2 separate regions of the Homo sapiens genome follow, and region 2 is linked to region 1. Evidence: promoter capture Hi-C in human tissues and cell types (Jung and others, 2019). All regions are on one chromosome and are shown on one strand. Each heading gives the region's core, a stretch centred on a gene start or on the middle of the fragment in contact. The rest is flanking DNA. Distances are from core to core; before and after follow the strand shown.

The links. Contacts are between HindIII fragments. The study calls those that stand out against the background at their distance.
Region 2: a contact is called between a fragment that was not itself captured here and the fragment with the promoter of SIRPG in region 1, in 2 of the 25 tissues and cell types used here (H1 embryonic stem cells and spleen).

What each region holds. Positions count from the first base shown.
Region 1 is chr20:1,655,659-1,659,362 of GRCh38, forward strand. It overlaps SIRPG (signal regulatory protein gamma), which reads right to left and starts at 2,121. Exons shown (of 6, transcript NM_018556.4): 1 at 1,984-2,121. The coding sequence starts at 2,056. The HindIII fragment of the contact is 12,235 bases long and covers 169-3,704 here.
Region 2 is chr20:1,492,460-1,496,163 of GRCh38, forward strand. No RefSeq gene overlaps it. Among named protein-coding and RNA genes, the nearest start is that of SIRPB2, 2.9 kb to the left of the region's middle. The HindIII fragment of the contact is 3,719 bases long and covers 73-3,704 here.

The DNA.
Region 1 (3,704 bases), core at 871-3,370:
AGAGCAGAGTTTACGAGTTCTCACAATAAAAAATGATAAATATGTAAGGTAATGCATATGTTTATTAGTTCAAATTAGTCATTCCACAATGTATGCATATTTCTTAATATGTTGTACATAAGTATACATACTTTTGTCAAATAAAAATAAAATAAAATATTTATTTTGTTAAAAATTTCACTGAAAATAGAAAGAGAACCAATGATTAAAAATGAAATCTCATCTGTGCATGTACATGTACATGCATAGGCACATGTGCATATATATGTGTATATAATGTGTATATATACACATTCACAAATATATATAAAAGTTTGGCTTATCATGTTAGTATATAAGGTTGTTTTGTGCATTAATTACAATTATGACAAATTTAAAAATCTCAGTAAAATATTTGGCACATAGAAACCATCCAACACATTTTTAACATTTTGGGAAAACATACATACACTAGTGTTTTACCTCTGATTGTTTCTGACTGGTGTGATGGGTGATTATTAATCTAATGTTTGCTTGCCTGCATTTTCTAATATTTCTACACATAGCATAACATGGTTAAAAGGGTGATAAACTCTGGAACTGGTCAACCTGGACTTGATCCCAACTGCTCCATGGACTGAAGTAGGGGACAATGAACAGGTTCCTGCCTCTGCCTCACTCCCCATTTGCAAATAGAGCACAAGAGTTATAGCTTCCACACAGGGATGCTGTGAGGATTAGTTGACTTAATACACACAAAATGCTAAGAAGTGCATCTGCCTTACAGGAAGAGAGCAATTGCTGAACTATTACTGCTGTCATTTGGGTACAGTGTATGTGTAAAAAAAATAATTTGAAAAGTGAGACCTTGCCCTCTAAGACCTGTGAGATGACATCACAGCAGGGCCCAGTGGGCAACTGAGAGGCTATTGTGCCCAGCCCTGTGACCGGGGGTCAGCTGCATGGTCTGAAAAAGGGGTGAAGACAGGCAGCCTGTCTGGGAGCTGTGAACAGGGCTCTCTCAGGTGGCACCAGGAAAGACCTCCCAATCCTGTCTGCCTGGGGGAAGGGAAAATAAATTCTCCAGAGGAAAGTCAAGATGACCAAGGGAGATGGTGGTGCCTGTTATGGGCTGAATGTGCCCCCAAAACGAATGGGTTGAAGCCCCAATCCCCAGCGCCTTAGAATTTGACCATATTTGGAGACAAGGTCTTTAACCCATTTATGCCCGAGGTTGCAATTTTTTTTTAATTTGAAAAATCAGACCTTGGCGATGCCCTTGAGCAGTAGGATATAAATAACTCCCGCAAGCTTAGTGATCCAATAACGGAGCACTAGGCATAAATGGGTGAAGCAATTTAGTTAAATGAGGTCACTGGCGGGGAGCCTTAATCCAATATGGCTGATGTTCTCATAAGAGAAAATGAGAATACAGACACACACAGAGGAAGACCATGTGTCAAGACACATGGAGGAGATGGCCTTCTACAAGCCAAGGAGAAAGACCTCAGTAGAAACTAACCCTGCTGGCATCTTGATTTTGCAATTCAGCCTCCAGAACTGAAAGAAAGAAAGTAAATGTCTATTGTTTTAGTTACTGAGTCTGTGGTGCTTTGTTGTGGAAGCCCTAAGAAAGGAATATAGGACGCTGTAAGCATGAAATGTGGAACTTCTTAAAGAGGAGGAGGGCACACAAAAATGGGTAGGAGGACTCAAGACAGGTAAGGATTTAATAATGATTCTTCTGTGTTTGTCAAATAAAATATTATAAAAATGTAACTAATTGTGATGGTGGCAGAAGCCTCACAAGGTTTGATGCCTCTGGTAGCCAGCTGCAGATCCACAGAGAAAGTGCTCAGCTCCCTGATCTTCTGCTCTTGGACAATGTCCAGTCCTTGACCTTCCTTGGCAGTGCTTGTGCTTATCTGAAATTGCTGCAAGTCCAGGGGCAAGGCTAGGTCCAGGAAGCAGGGAGAAAGGGTTCTAGCCCAATGCAATGCTCACCTGTAAGTCCCAGCAGTAGAGTCAGAAGCAGGAAAGGACCAGGAGGATGGGGCCAGGAGGCTGGGACAGGCATTTTGGAGACCTCAGAAGCCTGCTCTGTTCAAACGTCTGTTCTGGGGAGATGTCAGGCCCTGCTCTGAAGACAGAAGACAAGCCCTGCCTCCCTCAATTCAAGAGGAAGTGGCTATGATGGAATGCAACAGTAACCTGCTTCTAGATTGTGACTTACAAATCAGGCACAGTAGGCAGCTACAAAGCAAGGAGTTAATCGTGCTCCATTTTCAGGATAATCAGACAGGGTTAGCAGAAATAATGCTTCCTGCCTGCCTGGGACCTGTGCTCCCTCCTCGTGTCCCCAAACCCATTTTCAGGTCTTCTTGGTGATTTGCCATTTGAGGCTTTTAAGTCAAGAAAGATCTGTTGTTAGGTATTGTTTTCTAAAGTCTTTATTTCAAGACCCTAGGATGTGGTTGGCTTGTGGTCTTGTTCTGCACCAGCCTCAACCAAATGCCACTCCGCTGGACGTAGGAGAAGAGTTCACAGGACCTGCTCAACACTGGAGAGGAACCAGATCTTCTCCTGAAATGATTTTCTATTCCAAATTGCTATAATTGGCAACACTTAGCCCAAATTCAGTCTCTTGTGGACCTTAGCACTTTCATGTGCCTGCACCCAGCAGAAGGAATTATTTCTTGACTCCTTCCAGGAGAGAAACTGGGTTTGAGGTAATAAGCAACTGCTTTGTGGAGTGAGGTGGGGATTGTGGGTTATGGAAAGGGGATAGGGTTATCATGAGGGAAGATTATGGTGGGCAGGTTCCTGGGGCCGTCGCATCAATTTCAATACCCTTTCTTCTACACACAGAGCACCTATTTCATTCATCACTGAGTTCGGATGGGAAATGAGGAAAGAGGAAAAATCCATGCTCCTGCCAAGAGTGTGTGCCAAGGAGTTGGGGAAGTCGCTGGGCCCTCCTATGCTCAGTTTCAATCTCCTAAACTGGGAATAGTAAGTCTTTTTGTGCAGTGTTTTAGTGACGATTAAAGAGGTAATGAGCATATCATGCCTGAAACCCAGTAGGTCATTATTGATACTCACGGTGCCAGGTGAAGTGCGGGAACTCAAATGTTGCTTTTGAATGGATCCCTCCTGCATGCTGAGTTGCCCACCAGTGGCTTTCTCCCAGCAACCCAGGCCTCCTGAGACCCAGCTTATATAGTGTATTTGGACTCTCGCTGCCACCCTGAAATCAGTTTCTCCCTCTGGATTCTCTAAATCCCGCTCCTTGTTCAACCATAGATTAATTCCTCCTCTTACAATTTCCAGCTGTGTGATTTTCAAAAAGACACTACTTCTCTGAGCCTTGGTTTGATTGTATGTAAATAAATGTTAGAATATGCACCTTGTAGAGCTATGGTAGGAATAATATAAGCCATACTGAATGCTTGACTCATAATTAATTATAAGCAAAAAAACATGGCTATAATTATTTTCTGTGTACAGGAAGAGTCCACTGGTTCTCTGCCACCGTTGTGCCTTAGAAAAGCCACCTTGTTAAAAGAAATGATTTCTCTTCCAGCATCTATGACTAAGAAAGACCTGTCCAGAATCCTTCATCTCACATGTGGGTTTTAGGTTCTTAATCTGTCATGAATAATTGTCAAATCAAATTGTAAATGTTATCATGTTTTAATTGAAAGTCCTGTTTTAATGTGGCAGAT
Region 2 (3,704 bases), core at 682-3,181, 160 kb before region 1:
AGGAAGCTGAAGATTCTCCAGCAACAGGGTGGCAGGCCTTGGATCTGAGTATGTCCCCTGGGTCCCAGAGGTCTGGTGTCTACTATGAGGAGGTTAGTCTGGCCTGGTCCCCAAGGACTTTGCACTGGGTCTGTGACTGGTCTTTTCTAGACTTTTGAGGCCTTGCATTGATACCCCTGCTCAATTCCATTACTCCCTCTACTTGTTCTCCTGTCAATGAGATCTATATAGTGAAACTTCTTTGAAAGGGCCACAAGCCTAGATGATTCCACCAGACCCTCAGTACTTTCCATGTCATTCTTACACGGGAATTTCTGAATCACCTGCTCATCTATGCAGATTTCTTTCTCAGCTATTGTTTTTTTCTAAAGTTTTACTTACAAATAATTTTATTTTAATAGGCAAGGCATTGTATTGGTTAGCTATTGCTGCATAACAAAGCACCCCAAAATTTAGAAGCTTAAAAACTAAATGTTCAGTTAATTTACTATTTTGTGGGTTGACAATTCAGTCAGGGCTCCATTTGGTGGTTCGGTCTTCTCATCTCAGCAGATTTTGGCTGGGAATGTTCATGCACTTGAGGTCAGCTGCAGGTTGGCTAGGTGGCTTTGTTACTGCGGTTGACTGATTGTTAACCCAGGTACCTCAGCTGTCCTCTATGTGGTCTCTCATCTTCCAGGACACTAACTTAGTCTTGTTCTCATGAAAGGGGCAGTTTTGAGAGACAGTGCAAGGTACAAGGAAACTTCTGCCATATTCTTTTGGCCACATCAAGTTACAAGACCAGACAAGATTCAAGGAATGGAAAATAGACTTTGCCTCTTGTTAGGGAACTGCAAAGCCTAATTGCAAAAGGTGTGGATACAAAGAGGGGGTATAGAATTGTGGATATTTTTGTGATTTATCTGCCATGGGCATCTACAGGTACAAAATTCAGAGGTCTCAGTGTCTCATTTATAGGGCTCCCAGACATTACTTTCCTTAGGGTTAACCACAGTCACCAGTTTTTGAAGACATTCATTTCCTTTACTGTTTCTGATCTAGTGCTCAGAAGCCAGGTTGAATATGGTTTCTTTGTGATGTCGTGGACTATGAACACCCTGGGAAGACAGGCCATGATCCCTTATGCTGTAGGAATCCCTAAACTCCATTCCCACCCCACCCCAGCATTTGGACCTCAGGACTGTGGGGTTGGCAGGACTCTAGCATCTCAACCCCTGTCTTCTCCCTCTTTTTCTTACTTCCTCACCAAGTCATAAGGGGAGGAGTTCCCCTTCTTTTCCTTCTGGTAGGGACTTTCCTAATCTCAGTCTTCTTCCTAACAGCTGGCCTTCTTTGTTCTAGATGGAATCCCTCCTGCCCCTTCCTCAAGACAGCAAGTCTCACACTCCAGCTTAGAATAGGAAAAAAGCTTCCAGGGAAGGAATTAAACTGCTGGGAGGTGGAGAAATGCAAAAGGAAATAGTTAAAAATGTTATATCTGTCACGTCATCTATAAAACACATGAAATGCGATTGCGCGTGAAGCACTGGCTTGCGATAATTGCTCAGTAACTAGGAACAGTGGCATTCCTCCTGGTCAGTGTGCTTGGGTATCACATGAACTATAGTGTCTATTACTAGCCTGAGTTAAGTTATCCTCAACAAGAGCACCCGAGGTATATATAGAACACAAGTCTACCCATAAAGCTTTTTTTCCTTCCACTACAAAAATGGAACTTTGTTAAAACAACAGCTTTTTGATTGTTTACCATAAAATGGAAAACATACTAAGCAAGCACAGGGAAAGCGTTCAACCTTAGCAGCAATCAAGTAAATACCAGTCTTAAAAAGAGCAACACTGGTGTCTTTGCAATCAGCATCTATCTCCACTTTTTCTATGCTCTCCTCTTTTTTTGGAGGTTCTAAAAGCCTAAGAACTGCATTTTCTGTAACTCTTTACCATCATTATTCTAGGAGAGAATAATGAACCAAGGAGAGGTTCTTGCTTAGATTTGGAAGGTAAAAGGAGAGGCATGCTTGCTTCTCTAGCCATGAAGAGGGGGCAGATACGTGAGAATTGGTGGATTTAATTTATGCAAATGTGAGGTTTTGCAGTGCTGCCTGTCTTCTATAAATCACCTCTAAAGCACAGGCAGCTGGCATCATTAGCAGCAGTTTCTGTGAGTCTCTCAGATTCCTGATTTTCCAAGAGCTACCAGTGAACTTGAGAGATAAAGCAGTGAGGATTTCCGATGGTCTGTAAACACCAAATGCCACAAGTCCCATGAGAACCAAGCATGGCTTTTTATGACCGAACACAAAAGTCATCCAGCCTCATTTCTTCTCTTTTCATTTAGGAGGAAGCATTTAGTGTCTCAATACTAAAGTCTCTAAGGTCCTCGAACTTGATTTTCTGCTATTGGCAATTTGTCCTGCCTTGTGGCTTGGTTTGCCTTTCTTACTCCCTTTTCCTGTTTCATGTCAAATCCCATGGCTTGCTTTTTGGTGTTTTTGTTTTAAATTTTTATGGAGTTCTGACTTACATACAGAAAAAGGCACAAACATTTAAATGTGCAGTTCAGTGAATTTTTAGACTTTTACATCCATATACATCTGTGTAATAACCACCCCAAGATGTAGAAAGTTCCTTCTTGTTTCATTCCATTCAATCTCTGGCCCCAGAGGCAGCCACCTCTGATTTCTATCACCATAGATTAGTTTTGCCTGTTTTTGGAGTCTTTAGGTTTTTCCAAATATAAGAGCATATCATCTGCAAACAAGGATAATCTGACTTCTTCCTTTACAATTTGGATGCCATTTTTTTCTTTCTCTTCTCTGATTGCTGTAGCTAGGACTTCCATTACTACACTGAATAACAGTGGTGAAAATGGGCATCCTTGTCATGCTCCAGGTCTTAGAGGATAGGCTTTCAGTCTCCCTCATTCAGTACGATACTAGCTGTGCGTTTGTCATATATGGGTTGTACTATGTTGAGGTATAGTCCTCCTAAATCCAGTTTTTTTGAGGATTTTTTTATCATGAAGGGATGTTACATTTTATCAAATGCTTTTTCAGCATCAATTGAAATGGTCATATGGTTTTTGTCCTTCATTCTGTTGATATGATGTATCACATTTATTGATTTGTGTATGGTGAACTATCCTTGATGCTTGCATCCCAGGAATAAATCCCACTTGGTCATGATGAATGAGCTTTTTAATGTATTGTTGAATTCAGTTTACTAATATTTTGTTGGGATTTTTTGCAACAATATTCATTAGAGATATTGGTCTGCAGTTTTCCTTTTTCTATGTGTTTTTATGTGGTTTTGGCATCAGGGTAATACCGGTCTCATAGAATGAGTTTGGAAGTATTCGCTCCTCCTCTATTTTTTGGAATAGTTTGAGTAGGATTGGTAATAGTTCTTCTTTAAATGATTGGTAAAATTCAGCAGTGAAGCCACTGTTTCTTTACTGGGAGACTTTTTATTATAGCTTCAATCTCGTTACTTAATACTGGTCTGTTCAGGTTTTGGATTTCTTCATGGTTCAATCTTGGTAGGTTGTATGTGTCTAGGAATTTGTTTATTCTTTCTAGATTTTCCAATTTATTGGCATAAAGTTGCTCCTAATGATGCTTGGAATTTCTGCAGTATCAGTTGTGATGTCTCTTTTTTCATTGCTGATTTTATTTGGATCTTCTTGCTTTTTTTCTTAGTCTGGC